Linked DNA regions of Homo sapiens: regions 2 and 3 are each linked to region 1. The links are contacts of gene promoters, found by promoter capture Hi-C in blood cells and fetal thymus (Javierre and others, 2016). All regions are on one chromosome and are shown on one strand. The core of a region is centred on a gene start or on the middle of the fragment in contact, and the rest is flanking DNA. Distances in the headings are between cores, read along the strand shown. Region 1 has its middle 24 kb from the start of RGS10. Region 2 holds the start of SFXN4 (sideroflexin 4). Region 3 holds the start of GRK5 (G protein-coupled receptor kinase 5).

Region 1 (5,073 bases), core at 1,204-3,703:
AAAAAAAAAAAAAGAATGGATCAATTGTAGCACATTCACATAATAGAATATCATACCATATCATTGAAAAACTCAGCTACACACACACACACACACACACACACACACACACGCGAATGAAACTCACAGTATCAAGTAAGCTGGATACAAAAGAACATATACTGCTTAACTCCATCTATATAGTTACAAAATAGACAAACTAATCTGTGGTCATATAAATCAGTGAGTGGTTATCTTGGGGAAGAGTGGAGGTTAGAGACTAGGACAGAGCATGAGGCTTGCAGGGTAATGGCAATGGTCATATTTCCTGGATCTGGCTACCATTCACATGAGTGTGTTCACTTTATGAAAATTCAGGCCGGGGTGGTGGCTCACGCCTGTAATCCCAGTACTTTGGGAGGCTGAGGCAGGTGGATTGCCTGAGCAACAAGGTGAAACCCCATCTCTACTAAAATACAAAAAAATTAGCTGGGTGTGGCAGCGTGCACCTGTAGTCCCAGCTACTTGGGAGGCTGAGGCAGGAGAACTGCTGGAACCCGGGAGGTGAAGGTTGCAGTGAGCCGAGATAGCACCACTGCACTCCAGTCTGGGCAACAGAGTGAGACTCTGTCTCAAAAAAAAAAAAAAAAAGCAAAGAAAATTCAGAGCTGTACACATATGACGTATACTTTTCTGTGTAATATTTTAATTTTTCAAGTATATATATGGTAGAGGCCAGATGGGAAGATACTGCAGTAGTCTGGATGAAGGAAGATATTGGGTTTTTTTTGTTTTGTTTTTGAGACAGAGTCTCGCTCTGTTGCCTAGGCTGCAGTGAAGTGGCATGATCTCGGTTCACTGCAACTTCCACCTCCTCAGTTCAAGCGATTCTCCTGCCTCAGCCTCCCGAGTAGCTGGGATTACAGGTGTGCACCACCAGTCTTGGCTAATTTTTGTATTTTTAGTAGAGATGGGGTTTCACCATGACGGCCAGGCTGGTCTTGAACTCCTGACCTCAAGAGATCTGCCTGCCTTGGCCTCCCAAAGGCGTGAGCCACCATGCCTGGTTAGATGTTGGTTTAGACTAGGGTAAGAAGAACCATAAAGTGATCCATTTATGTTTTTTGTTCGTTTCCAATTTTCCATTTTGTAACCACTTTAGTAAATATAATACAATCATCAGCAAATCTAATGTCAAAACGAAGCATTTTCTTGAAAGAGTAAATTTCAGTAAGCCTATATATAGCTGCGAATGAATGTAGGTAACTTCCAGGTATATTAAAAATTAAAACTTTCGTATTTGACAGCACAAATAGAATCCCGGTACTAATTTAAGACCTAACCAGATTAGGAATACAAAATATACGGCCAGGTGCCGTGGCTCACACCTGTAATCCTAACACTTTGAAAGAGGCTGAGGTGGGTGGATCACTTGAGGTCAGGAGTTCAAGACCAGCCTGGCCAATATGGTGAAACCCTATCTCTACTAAAAATACAAAAATTAGCCAGGCGTGGTGTCAGGTGCCTGTAATCCCAGCTACTTGGGAGGCTGAGGCAGGAGAATCGCTTGAACCCAGGAGGCGGAGGCTGCAGTGAGCCGAGATCGCATACCACTGCAGTCCAGCCTGGGCAACAAAGGGAGACTGTGTCTAAAAAACAAACAAACAAATAGAAACAATATATAAGCCACTCAAGAAACATTTATCCTTCATGATACAAGGGCAAACTGGCCAGGCATGGTGGCTTACACCTGTATTTCCAACACTTTGGGAGGCTGAGACACGAGGACTGCTTGAGCCCAGGAGTTCAAGACTAGCCTGGGCAACATATTGAGACTCTGTCTCTACAAAAAATAAATAAAAGCTGGGCACGATGGTGCACATTTGTAGTCCCAGCTACTTGGGAGGCTGCACTGGGAGGATTGCTTGGGCCCAGAATATCAAGGCAGTAATGAGCCATAATCACACCACTGCACTCCAGCCCCCCAAAAAGGGCAAACCAAATTCTAAATAACATACTACTTTAATTGTGCCTTCACATGGGGAACATCAAACAGTCAAATGTCAACACTCAAATTGCCTACTGTTTTCCTAGGATTGCTACAAGTCTTTTATAATTTGTCTTATTCTCACTTAAACAATTAAGAAACTTCTTTCTAATCCAACTAGTTTATCAGCAAATATGCTGAAGCACAAGCTGACTTCAGATGTCTGTGCTATATATATATATATTTTTTCCACTTCAAGAATCTCAACTGTGTCACTTCCCATGGCTAGTTCCATTTTTGTCTGTTATACTCAGATGTTGCCTGTCCAGAAACCCAGTTCTGCTGTGCTAGCAGCCCCTCTTCCTAAAACATGGCCCAGGATCACCCACATTCTTGGAGTGATATGCAGAAGTAGTTATGGTTCCTACCTGGCACACACCCAGCACATTCCCATTAGGAGTGCATCCTAATCATCTTTGTTCTTGTTGTTTTGAGACAGGGTCTCGCTCTGTCGTCCAGGCTGGAGTGCAGTGGCACAACCAGGGCTCACTGCAGCCTTGAAATCCTGAGCTCAAACAATCTTCCCACCTCAGCCTCCCAAGTAGATGGGACCCACAGGGGCATGCCACCATGCCTGGGTTTTTTTTGTTTTGTTTTTGAGACAGGGTCTCACTACATTGTCCAGACTGGCCTTGAACTCCTGGCCTCAAGCAATCCTCCCACCTCAGTTTCCCAAAGTGCTGGATTACAAGTGTGAGCCACTGTGGCCAGCCCTGACCACTGCTGAAAGATGCTTGGCAAACTACATTGCATAGCAGTAATGGATAACATTAACTACAAAAAAACCTAGATTTTAAAAAATCTGTACTTTTGAAAAAAAGAAAAACACCTAGTTTTTGTGAAAAATGTGTAACCATGGCTAGTAGTTTTAATCTCCCAAGCCAGGAAGAAAAAAGAAATCTAGGCCAATTAATTTAATTTTAATTACTTTTTTATTTATTTTTGAGAGGGAGTCTCGCTTTGTTACCCAGGCTGGAGTGCAGTGGTGTGATCTCAGCTCATTGAAACCTCCAACTCCAAGGTTCAGGCAATTCTCCTGCCTCAGCCTCTAGAGTAGCTGGGACTGCAGGTATGTGCCACCATGTCCAGCTAATTTTTGTATTTTTAGTAGAGACAGGGTTTCGCCATTTTGGCCAGGCTGGTCTTGAACTCCTGGACTCAAGTGATCTGCTTGCCTTGGCCTCCCAAAGTGCTGGGATTACAGGCATGAGCCACCACACTCAGCCAATTTTTTTTTTTTTTTTTTTTTTTTTTTTTTGAGACGGAGTCTCGCCCTGTTGCCCAGGCTGGAGTGCAGTGACACAATCTCAGCTCACTGCAAACTCCACCTCCCAGATTCAAGCAATTCTTCCATCTGTCTCCCGAGTAGCTGGGATTACAGGCATACACCATCATGCCTGGCTAGTTTTTTGTATTTTCAGTAGAGACGGGGTTTCACCATGTTGGCCAGGCTGGTCTCGAACTCCTGACCTCAGGTGATCCACCCACCTCGGCCTCCCAAAGTGCTGGAATTACAGGTGTGAGCCACCACGCTCGGCCCCGATTTATTTATTTATTTTTTGAGACAGAGTCTCGCTCTGTTGCTCAGGCTGAAGTACAGTGGCACAATCTCAGCTCACTGCAACCTCTGCCTCTCAGGTTCAAGCAATTGTCGTGCCTCAGCCTCCCGAGTAGCTGGGACTACAGGCATGCACCACTATGCTCAGCTAATTTTTGTATCTTCAGTAGAGATGCGGTTGTGCCATGTTGGCCAGGCAGGTATCGAACTCCTGGCTTCAAGTGATCCACCTGCCTCGGCCTCCGTAAGTGCTGGGATTTCAGGCGTGAGCCACCGGCGCCCCGCCAGGCCAATTAATTTTATTTCAGACTACCTTCACCCACAACTGCAGAGTCTCAGAATCTACCTTTTCACAAGCACCCCACCAATTCTGATCAAGTTCTACTCAAATAGAACACGAGGTAATGTTCTGGTTTCAAGAGGGAGACTAAATAAAATACATGTTTACTTTCATTTCCTCTTATCATATTAATGTATTTAACATTTACTGAACACCTACCACATGCCAAGAACTGTTACAAGTACTAGAATTTGTGTAGTTAACAAACCAAGTCCCTGCCTTCGGGGAGCTTCAACCAAGGAATGAAGTTATCCATTTTTAAAAAATAAAATATATCCCTGGGTATAAGAAATGTGGATTTTAAAGGACATCCTAATCCCTGTCATTTTACTGAAAATGCTCAAAGGCAACTATTGTAAAACAGGACCATTTGCCCAACATTCTAATACACAAGTAGAACCCATATTGCTAAATAAAAACATACCTTAAAGGAAATTGAAAACAAACTATCAGGGCCATCTATCAGCAAACATGTTGGTAATATTTCATTTTCAATAGGCTGGTAAGTCTCCTGGTAAGTCTTCTAGTCTTGATAAAGTGTACACAGTCTTAAACCAGGAACATATTACATATCAACACCCCACCCGATTATCCATTCATGGCTTACTACACCTGCCCAGAATTGTCTAGTCTCAGGTTAATGTGCTCCTGAATCAAGGACTTATCCCTCCTTCATCATCCTTCGTCACTTTTTCCCCAATCTGAACCCTTATTAAACAAAGTATGAGTTATGCCATCTGCTAAAATATAACCTAGCCAGAGAAAATTAAAAATGTTTTTCAAGTTTAGTCCTCTTCAAAAAGTAGCAAGCTAAGATGATTAAATGTGTAGTCTCATTTTTTAAAAAGCTGTTAAGACTTACACATTAGCTTTATTTTTGTGAGCAAAAGCAATCGTACAAACCCAATATGGAACAACTCAATTCTTAACTTGTAACCAGTAAAGTGAACTGAATGTGAAAACCTGAAATTTATACAATAATTCTCAGAACATGCACAGTTGCATATGGCTACGTATTTCATGCTTTATTTTGTCTAGATGGTTTCAGACTTCTCTTTGCTGGTATACCAAAACGTAAGGAAGAAAGATAAAGGACCAGGAAAAAAAATTACACTTGGGCAAGTTATGGTATCTGCTGATTTTATACAG
Region 2 (5,073 bases), core at 80-2,579, 400 kb before region 1:
AGGGACTCCTGAATGTACTCAAGGCAACACAGCCAGGAAATGATTCAGAAGTCTGTGCCCTTAACCTCTCAGTATCAAATTGCCCTTGAGGGTTAAAATCCCAGACTTTGGGGGTTCAAATGGTCTTACGTTCATATCTCACATACGACCTCGAAGCAATGGCCTAGAATATCTCAAGAGTCTGTGGCCTCACTCTCTGCTTGCTATAAGGCTTCACTCCAGTGACAAAGGATGGACGCCCCATTAAGGGCTCAATGGTGCAGCTGGGGTCACACTGGGGAAAAAGAGGTTTGCTCCAGCAAACTCTAAACTTTGTAGTGGTTCTGGCTTTAAGCCTTGGCTCTGCTGGAGCAACCTGAGCTCACCGCCCCTTCTCAATTTCCCCACCTAAAAAAAAAACAGGGCTGGACCCCACTTTAGGAGAGGCCTCAAAGAGAACCCCCTAAAGCCCTGCTCTCCAATTCGCCACATGCGGCTGAACCCAGATGTGCTGTGAAGGTAACAGACGCCGGATTTGGAACACTCTGTACCAAAAAAGCGAGTAAAATATCTCAGCAATGTTTTTTACTGATTACATGTTGAAATGTTAATATTTTGCACCTGCTAGGCTAAATGTACTGTATTGTTAAAAATTTCAGCTGTTTTTATCTTGTTTAATGTGGCTACTAGAAAATGTTTAATTACCTGTAAGGCTCACATCATATTTCTATTGGACGGTGCTGCCCTAGACGCTGCAGGGAGATAAGTCCTGCTTATGTCCTGCCCAAGGGTGGCTTCCCAAAGCCTCGGGGGTCTCACCGAAAGTGGCTGAGCTTACCAAGGTGCGAGAGCCTGTTTCTCCCCAATCTGCTGCTCAGCCACAGCTCAGGCAGTAGGGAGCAGCCACCTGCGCGGACTGGGCCCCTCCGAGAGGGCAATCTGGAGGGTGACGTTGTGGTCGTGGGCATCTGGCAGCTTCGATTTCCCCTGCGTCCCCTGCCGCGCCCTAAGGGGTGAAGGCCGGTGGTGCGCGTTCCCGGCACAACTCCGAGAGGAGGAAACGGAGACAGGGGGCGCCCACGTGGCCTGGCCAAGGTCACCCGGGTCAGCCCGACTCCACGCGGCCCGGCCCGCCCCCTCCCTGCCCCTAGTCGCGCCGGGCCCGGGCCGTACTTGGCGCTCGGTGATCCAGAAGCGCACGTTGGGCTCAATGAAGGCGGGGACGGCGTCTCTGCGTCCTAGGAGCCGCCCAGGTTGCGTTTCCTCCTCCTGTTCCAGGGACATTTTGCGCTGGTTAGAGTGGCCGCCGCCGCCAGGCCGCGCGTGGAGGAGGAGCCGGGCGGCGAGCCCCGCCCCGGGCCGCGCGCACCCGCAGTTCCCGCCCCAGGCCCGCGCGCCCGACGTCCCGTGTCACAGCGCCTCGGGGCCCTTGCGCGCCCACTGTTCCGGCGAGCGCAGCTCTCCCACGGGCCACGTCCTCCCAACCCTGCTTGCCCTGCTCCGCACCTTTGGGGAGCCGGGCCGTCTCCAGGCCCCAAGGGGTCACTATCGGAACCCGTCATCACAGTACCTAATGCGAAGACCCGGAAAGGTTGTGAGTGAGGCCGTCCGCAACCTCACCCTGCGCTTCTGCCGCGCCCTACCCCTGGTCATTACCCTCGAAAATCCCTCCGATGGCCCACGAATTCCAGTGTGCATGGTGTTGCGCAGTCAGGCCGGCTGCATCATGGTCTCAGCCCAGGGAAAATGTCAAATGCGGTGCCCCTTATTCATGTTACTGAGAATTTCAAGAGAGTAACACCAGAGCATCAAACCAAGTATAGGGCCCTGGGCACAGTGCACTATCCCTCAGCCCAACAGGTTGTTTTTTTTTTTCTTCCAGTGTTGGGGCAAATCCAGTTCCTTTTGTTGACTACCAAATAGGTACCATTTGTAAAGAAAAACCTGCCTTCCCTTCCTCCTCCCACCTGCCCTTCCCCAGCACAGGGCCAGGCGGGGGCTGTGTGCACTTAAATTCACGGAAGCCACAAGTGTGCCTAGGTCGTTCAGGGGGCCTCCGGAGTCCAGGACTGGGGGACCCAGCACATCATCTAGTTGTGTGACCCTCGCCAAGTCAGTATCTCGAAGTCTATTTTCCCATCCGCAAAATGAGGATAACAATTGTACCTATCTCAGGGTTTTGTTTCTGATCAAAGGAGATAAAACATCCCTAACACAGCACTGAGCCCTCAGAAGTGCTCAGTATTGGCCATTAACCTCCAGCGGGCCAATTCCTTCCCTTGCCCTGCGCCTCCAGGAACAGGAAATTGGCTCATGGCGTCCTTCAGGCCTGTATGACTCTGCTTCTGTATTTGCTCAGTTTGCCTAGCTCACTTTTCTTAACCTCCAGGGGTTTATCTCCTCTTCCAGGAAGCCTTCCCTGACCCTCCGAGTTGAGTAAGGTGCCCCCTCCACTTCTACCCTTATGCCGCAGAAATCCATCTAAGCACCAGTGCAGTATGTAGCGTGCTGTTCTATTCTGTTGTCTCTACCCTCCAGGATGTCACAAAGCCAGCCCGCTGGCCTGCTTCCCCACTTTGGACTGCTATGTCGTCTTAACAAAGGAGCCAGAGTGATTCTCTTAGAACAAGTTGATGTCACTCTTCTTTTCAAATCCTTCCTGACATTCCCCACCCCAGAACAGAACCTAAAGTCCTTGGCCTGGCCAAAAGGCACTCTGGGACCCCCACCACAGCCATAGTCACCGGCCTCCTAGTAAATCTGCATCCGCTCTGAGCCCACTCTTGCCTCACGGCCTTTGTGTTTTCCCTGCCCTCTGCCTAGAAGTCTCTTATCCCCGTAATACTCTCACTTTCTACGCGTTTTCTCTCCCTCGATGCTCATCAAAACCCTGAGATAAGTACAATTATTGTCCTCATTTTACAATGAGAAAATTGATCCAGAGAGGCTCTCCCTTAAGGCCTTCCTTGACAACCCCATCTAGAACACCTACAACTCCGCTTCAGCAGTTTCACTCCACATTATTTTCCTTCCAAACACTCTACTTTTACTACATGTATGAGGTGTTTCCCCTCTAGAATGTAAGAGCTTAAAAGCAGGGGTTTGTCCGTTGTTCGCTCTTGTGCCTGGAAAACAGCACCTGGTGCGGGGTAGGCACTCAAGGATTTACTGAAACAACGAGAAAATGTTTCCCTATCTGTCTTGCCCCTAAACCGAGTTCCTTGAGTGCGGAACCAGCATCTTATTCTCTTTGTGGCCCCTGAGGTAAATGCTCAATAAATGTTTGTTGATAATCTGAGAAGGAAAGGAGAGCCCAAAATAAGCTGATCCAACAGTTACTGGTGGTAAAATGCAAATGTTTTAAAATATGTTTATTTTGTATGTTTTACAATGAATACTTCAGCAAAGAAAATAATTATAATTTCAAAATGCAATCCCTGGATTTGATAAATATCCTTTATAATCGATTACACTAATCAATATCTAGAAATATACATAGACAAAGTTAGCTAATGAATAAAATAAGTAAAATGACTACATAAACTCAATTTCAGGGATGAGGGATCATGCATGATCAGTTAAGTCACTCTGCCACTTTTTAAAATAATACGATTCACATTTGCTTCAATCACATAAACATTCATTGCAGGAGTTACACGGCTAATCATTGAAAATTATGATCTTTGTTAGCTTAAAAGAAAATTCAGTTTAATACAAAGACATTCAAGATGAAAATTTCAGGACCGTTGATCAGAAGCTTTCAATGTGTGTTGCTCTACTTTATTATAGGCAAGATTCAAGTAAGGCTAAGAAAGAAGAGTGTTTCCATTGAGACATGATCTAAGAATAGCCTTCTATAGAGGCAAATTATGTTCTGTAGAAACTAGCTAGCCAGCCACCAAGATGTTACCAATAAAGGATTCCTTGTACTAGCAACTAACCATGTTTAAAAGGTCTTAGCCAGAATTACAAAAACAAAACATTTAGAGTAATACTTATGAATACAAGCATAATTGGTTCCTTGCCTTCTACAAATAACCATCTTGAAAATGATAAAAGCAGGTTTCAACTGTGGTTCTTCTCTCAGTTGAGAAGGTGCAGATACACATGGGTGATCTACTGATTTACCTTCTGAAAGTACTCTTTGGAAGCAGCTGGACTTGGCTTGATCTGAAAATACAAAAGCTTAATTAGGTAACTGTGACTTTACCATAATAATAGTCCCAAAAGTGAGTGGCAATCTCCCAATTTTTAACCTAAAGTTCTTTAAACTTTTAAAGATTTCCTTTAAAACATAAAGATGAAAGTTTCATTAAGGCCTGCCTGTCTCTAGGCCGGGCACGGTGGCTCACGCCGGTAATCCCAGCACTTTGGGAGGCCAAGGCGGGTGGATCACGAGGTCAGGAGATCCAGACCATCCTGGCTAACACGGTGAAACCCCGTCTCTACTAAAATTCAAAAAATTAGCCGTGGTGGTGGGCGCCCTGTAGTCCCAGCTACTCAGGAGGCTGAGGCAGGACAATGGCGTGAACCCAGGAGGCGGAGCTTGCAGTGAGCTGAGAGAGCGCCACTGCACTCCAGCCTGGGCGAGAGCAAGACTCCGTCTCAAAAAAAAAAAAAAAGGCCTGCCTGTCTCTGATAATTGGTTCCTGGCTCCCCACCCCACCCCCTCTACCCCACAGCAGCTTCACCCATTTGCATATCATCTGCACGCTTGCTTCAAGAGTGGGCTCCCTTTTGTGGATATTTCAGGTCAATAGCTCTCGAGGCTGAGAGAACATGGACCTCACTGCTTTTGGGGAAAAAAACCTACCGTAGGAGAATCCGGTGTCCAGTTCGCTGGGCAGACTTCTCCATGTGTTTCTACATACTGGAACGCCTTCACCAAGCGGAGGGTTTCTTCCACGCTTCGGCCCACTGGGAGATCGTTGACGCTCAAATGCTTGATGACTCCATTGGGGTCAATTATGAAGAGACCTCTGCATGATCATTTATCCTCATCAGTGCCTCAACAGTACCAGAACTAGAACAGTCTAACTTCTTCCCTTTTAGGTCTTTAATTCTCCTTTTAATAAAATATTTATTAAGCGTAAT
Region 3 (5,073 bases), core at 674-3,173, 360 kb before region 1:
TGTTAGCCAGGATGGTCTCGATCTCCTGACCTCGTGATCCTCCCGCCTCGGCCTCCCAAAGTGCTGGGATTACAGGCGTAAGCCACCGCGCCCGGCCCAAGAAAATTGTTAAGGTGCATAAGCCATCTAAAGGCATTCAAAAATTTTCTTTCTTTTTTTTTTTATGTTAGCCGAATAAACAAACTTCGGGCTTCATCAGGCCCTATGCTGCCAGCAAGTGACCAGCGTGGTTGGTGGAGGGCTCTAGGAGCTGCCAGCTTTAGGGGTCTCGCTGTCTGAGAGAGATCCTTTCATTAAAGGTTAGGGCTCTAGGCACGTGAATATGTAGCAAAGACCAAGCCTGGATTGCTTAGAACAGTAATTCCTGGAGTGGTAAGTGCCTGAAAAGTTACCCGCTGAGCCCTCCGCCTTCTGACAGGTAAACTGTTGTTGCCCCCATTTTGCAGACAAGATAAATGAGGCCCTGGGAGACTCACTGACCCAAGTCTAGACACCAGGAAGTGGTGGTGGTGGGTATACTCCCCCAGGAAAGCAGGTAATCTTGGGTTGTTACAATCAGTGACCAGACCAGTTTCCAAGGCCTGGAAGGTTTATTGATTTCTTTATATTCTCCAATGCATAATAACTGTTCTCTGTTTCTCTCGGCACCTCCCTGCGACTTCCTGGCAGCCCTGGGGACAGAGGGTTTCCTCCTTCTGGACAGAGAAGGCCCAGAGTCGGCTTCTGAACGGATATCCGGCCCGCAGGATGCAGAGGAGGCAAAGGCCTCATTGTTCTTTGGGGCCTGCCTGCCCCGCCCCCAGCTGTAGGACACTCGTGGCAGATCCCGGGTGACCGAAGACAGCCCATTTCCAGGAGTGGGGCCTTCGGAGCGGAGGGAGCAAGGAAACGGGGCTGAGCACAGACCTGGAGTCTGATGTTCTGAGCATAACACTGGAAGGAGCTAAGAGCCCCAAAATAAATAAGACCGGAATTTAAAAACGTTAATCCCACGCCGGCTTGGCGCTGGCCTGGCTGTTACTCATTAACGCTCCCCACGGCGGAGACTCCGGCGACTCCGTCTGCGTTTTTATTACTTAATCTGGCTGGGTTTGGCTGCAGGGAGGCTCGTGGATTTGCTGGCCGGGTGTGCTGGAAGGCAGTTTATTCACAGAATAAGCAGCTTCCCACGCTGGACCCTGAGCCCCAGGCGCCGTCCGCGTAGACCCCGCGCCGCGCACCGCGGCCGGCGGGGGGCGCTCGGGTCGCACCGAGAGCAGCGCGGGCAGCCAGCGCCGGGTCGCAGCCGACCCGCAGAGCCCTTCGCGCCCTCCGAGGAAACAAAGTGCATCTTTGTCCGCGGCCCGAGGCGCCGCGTGGGAGACGCTGGGCAGGGGCCAGGCCGGGCCGGCCGCCGCCGCGTGCGGGGACCCTGGGCGCGCGTCACTGACCCGGGACTCAGACCCTCGCGGGCCTGGCGCGGACCGGAGGAAGCGGGCTGTGGCGCGCGGCCGAGCTGGCAGCCCTCCCACTCCGAGCACGGCTCGGGACCCGCACTGGCTCCTGCCGGGCCGCGGCGCTTCACGCGCCGTCACCGGGGCCCGTGCACTCCGCTTTCCGGGCTGGCGACGGGGCGGGAAGGGGGCAAGCGGGAGCCTGCGGGGGGGTGCTGGGGACTTCGGCTTGGCTGGGCCGCCTTTGAGTCGCCTGTCGGCCGGGCGGTGCCCGCCTTCGCTTTCGGTGCCGTCCCGGGGCGGGTCCTCGCTCCGACAGCCGCGCGCCAGCCCAGCTCAGCCCCGGCGCCGCGCGGCCGGGAGGACTCCAGCTCCCAGCAGGCCCCGCGCCGCGAGCACCGAGGCAGGAGGCGCGCCTGGGCCGGCGCTTGCGCAGTGCGGCCGCCCGAGCCTGCTAGTACCACACCCCCGGGAGGGACTGAGGGGAGGCAGAAGCATCCGAGGCATTAAAGCATCCGAGGGAGCCGGAGGGGAGGAGAATGGAGTGACAGAGACACGCGGAGGGTGGGGGGTGGGGGGGAGCGTGTTGAGGGAGGGGGGAGGGGGGACACAGAGGGAGGAAGAAGCGGCGGCGGCGGCGGCGGCGGCGGCGGCTCCTCTTTGCAGAGGGGGAAACTCTTGGGCTGAGAGCAGGAATAATGCGGTAGGCAAGGCGGGCTGCTGGCTCCCCCGGCTCCGGCAGCAGCGGCGGCAGCCCGAGCAGCGGCAGCAGCAGCGGCAGCACCCCAGGCGCTGACAGCCCCGCCGGCCGGCTCCGTTGCTGACCGCCGACTGTCAATGGAGCTGGAAAACATCGTGGCCAACACGGTCTTGCTGAAAGCCAGGGAAGGTAAGAGGCAGGGCCGGTACGTGCCCGGCGCGTCCGCCGCGGGCCAGGGTGCGGGTGTCGGGTGGCGTGCGGGCTGGGGCTGCGCCCGTGCAGGATGCCCGCTGCCGGCGAGTGGGTCGCGAGCAGGACACTTCGGAGAGCGGCTCTGCAGACCCTTCAGGGTTCCTGCCTTGGGGCTCAGAGAATCTGGACTTGGGCTGAGAAGGTTGCAGGGATTTGGATGCTAACATATCTCCTAGTTTCCAGCGCTCGCCCTGCAGAGCGTGCCATCTCGGCAGCTGTTGAAAGGTCAGTTGGAAAAGCATTCATTCGGGGAGCGACGAGCAAACATGCACATAAAATAGCGTTTCAAGTCGGCCCGGGATGGTTCTGTGTGAACTGGTGTGTGTGTTCGAGGGGCGGGGGTGGAATGAGCAGAAGCCAAGTCTTTGCCTGCGCAGGCTGAGTTGATATAGACTATTGCTGGAAACCATCCGCTGGGATGTTTCTTAGGGAAATCCCGTCGTGTGGAAGGAAGCCTTTTAAAGGCAAAGTCAGATGTTGAGGAATTAGCCTTTTCATAGAATTATCAAAGGATGGCTGTACAGACCACCTAGAAAATAATTCAGTATTTCAGGTTTTTCTTTTCTGGGAGTGTGATAACTGAAATTGTTAGATTTTGGCTCAGTTAAGAAAAGAAAGGTAAGTGTGCTGGTGCTTTAGATACGTTTTCTATGCAAATCATTAGATTTCCTGCATTTAGCTGGCAGGAAATATTGTCTAAATGGAGTGTGTAAGATCCTGAGTCAAACCCTAAGAACGCATATTTTGACTCTTCCTTTTGATGAAAAACAGAAAAAAGGGGGGGGAGGCAGAAACTTGGGTGCTTCCTGAAATGATTGTGTTGTGTCCATGTAAACATATGTATTTAGGAATACCTGGAATTTATGTCGCATATTTTCCTTTTTTTTTTCTGGTCAAGATTTGAGCTCTAGTGTGCGACCTTTTTCATAAAAGGGGAAGAGGTTTTTCCCTTTCACGGGAGAACGCTTTATTTGATACAAGGTAGAAGGCAGACTGAGTAAGGGCTTGAGTTTAGAAGGATACTCGGTGAGCAGCCCATGAAAATGTCTTACCTGCTTAATATTTTCATTCACCTACTTTGATGAATGAAGGGAAGAATTTCTGGCCAGCAATAAAACGATTCGTGTTTATTCAGCCCGTTCCATCACCTTGTGGCTCCCTACACACTGTGGGGGTAGGTGATGCATAGCCTTCCGTGGGCAGCGTTTCAGCAACTCAACCCGGCATTCGTGTCTTACTTTCGTCGTCACTTGTCACTCTAAAGCAGCCAGTGGGCAAGAAGGTTTATTTCAGAAGCCCCGAAGGGAGGCAGTGCTTTGAAAACCCCAGCAGAGTTTAAAATATTCAGGTTAGTCTCCCTCCCATTGCTTAGCTTTGGTGGGAATAAATTTTTAGGAGAGGCTTGTTACTTGGTGACTTCAGGTTCTAAGGCCTGAGCTGTGTGTGTGTGTGTGGTTTTTTTTTTTTTTTTTTTTTTTTTTTCCTAACCTGACATTTTTAGTGGACAGGATCTAGGTGGGTGCTGGTAGGCTCTCCTCTGGGTTGGGGAATGGTCCTGAAAGGGAGGAAGCAGAGAAAACAGCCCTCCACCTCCCCCGCCCCTCTTTCAGCCTTTGCAGCTGGCCACCTAGTGGTGGGACACGGTTGTGTATCTCAGGATTCGGGGGCTGGGAAAGTTTTCACTCTCGCTCCATTCTGAAATTATTTCTTGGGAAATCACTGGGTCTGATGGTACTGGAGCCTTGCAAGTTTCGCTGGTTCCTCCTGTTGCCCAGGGAATCTGCCCCCGACATTTGCTGCTGTAGATATTTGTTTGCCTGATAGATGCTTTTTTTCTTCCCTGAGCATTTGGTTGCTTCTTTTATAATGCTTTGCTTAGAGTGGGCAAAGTGATATCAATTCCACCCGCCCCCTCCAAATTGTTCTCCCCAGTATTTTTTCACCAACGTGAATTTACTGTCTGATATTGTTGTTCGTTAGGCCAACAAATTGGGTTTTTTTCCCAGAGCCTTGGAGAAGAGAGCTGCAGGCTGGAAGCTTGTGTGGAGTGACCGACTCCCATTGGGGCAGAATTACAGTGATTGAAAGTGCTCAAGAATGTGCCTTTCACTTTTTTTTTTCCTTTTAAAGGCTTTTTCAATTTTGCTGTGAGAGTTTGGTCGTCATCTCATGGTGAGAAAATAGCTCTTGATGATGCCTTGGAAATGGAGAGGGCCTGCGGAAGCAGGGAGAGACTGACACGTGAACAAGAAAAATTAATCATTTAATGGAAACCTCATTTACAATTTGCATCTCTCCCCTTCTTTCTCTCTTATGCCTAGAGGAAAGCCATGATTTTAAGTGCTTCCAGTTTCTTTTGGCTGGGCCTTTATTAGAGACTTGAGCCCATATATCCTAATTAGTGTGGACACTTTTAGAAATTAAAGCAATTTATGTTTCTCTTCTCAGTTCTCATATATTTGAATTTATTTTACTAAACTTAGTAGTTCTCCAAATAACCATATTATCTAAATATTCAGAAATGAAATCTTCAGTCAGTTTAGTGAAATATCTAATATAAAACAGTATATTAAAAAAATCTGAGTTGTTTAAAAGGTTTAAAAACACTTCTTAAAGATTCTTGTCAGTGGTTACAGATGAGAAATATAATTGGCAAATGTGAAATTTAATTTAGTTCACTTAACAAAA

The links. Contacts are between HindIII fragments. The CHiCAGO score rates a contact against its expected background, and 5 or more counts as called.
Region 2: a contact is called between the fragment with the promoter of SFXN4 here and a fragment that was not itself captured in region 1, in 13 of 17 cell types (fetal thymus, naive CD8 T cells, endothelial precursors and 10 more). The highest score is 7.9, in fetal thymus.
Region 3: a contact is called between the fragment with the promoter of GRK5 here and a fragment that was not itself captured in region 1, in 5 of 17 cell types (naive CD4 T cells, naive CD8 T cells, non-activated CD4 T cells and 2 more). The highest score is 6.9, in naive CD4 T cells.

Annotation. Positions count from the first base shown.
Region 1 is chr10:119,564,164-119,569,236 of GRCh38, forward strand. No RefSeq gene overlaps it. Among named protein-coding and RNA genes, the nearest start is that of RGS10, 24 kb to the left of the region's middle. The HindIII fragment of the contact is 6,245 bases long and covers 1-5,073 here.
Region 2 is chr10:119,164,385-119,169,457 of GRCh38, forward strand. SFXN4 (sideroflexin 4) reads right to left here and starts at 1,330. Exons shown (of 14, transcript NM_213649.2): 1 at 1,153-1,330. The coding sequence starts at 1,263. PRDX3 (peroxiredoxin 3) reads right to left here. Exons shown (of 7, transcript NM_006793.5): 6 at 4,793-4,958; 7 at 3,336-4,149. The coding sequence ends at 4,096. RefSeq lists silencers at 781-967, 1,009-1,478. The HindIII fragment of the contact is 6,667 bases long and covers 1-3,734 here.
Region 3 is chr10:119,205,648-119,210,720 of GRCh38, forward strand. It overlaps GRK5 (G protein-coupled receptor kinase 5), which reads left to right and starts at 1,924. Exons shown (of 16, transcript NM_005308.3): 1 at 1,924-2,322. The coding sequence starts at 2,271. GRK5-IT1 (GRK5 intronic transcript 1) reads left to right here and starts at 2,774. Exons shown (of 2, transcript NR_186528.1): 1 at 2,774-3,003. RefSeq lists enhancers at 431-510, 621-670, 691-800 and silencers at 1,141-1,970, 2,181-2,250, 2,301-2,350. The HindIII fragment of the contact is 5,116 bases long and covers 1-4,420 here.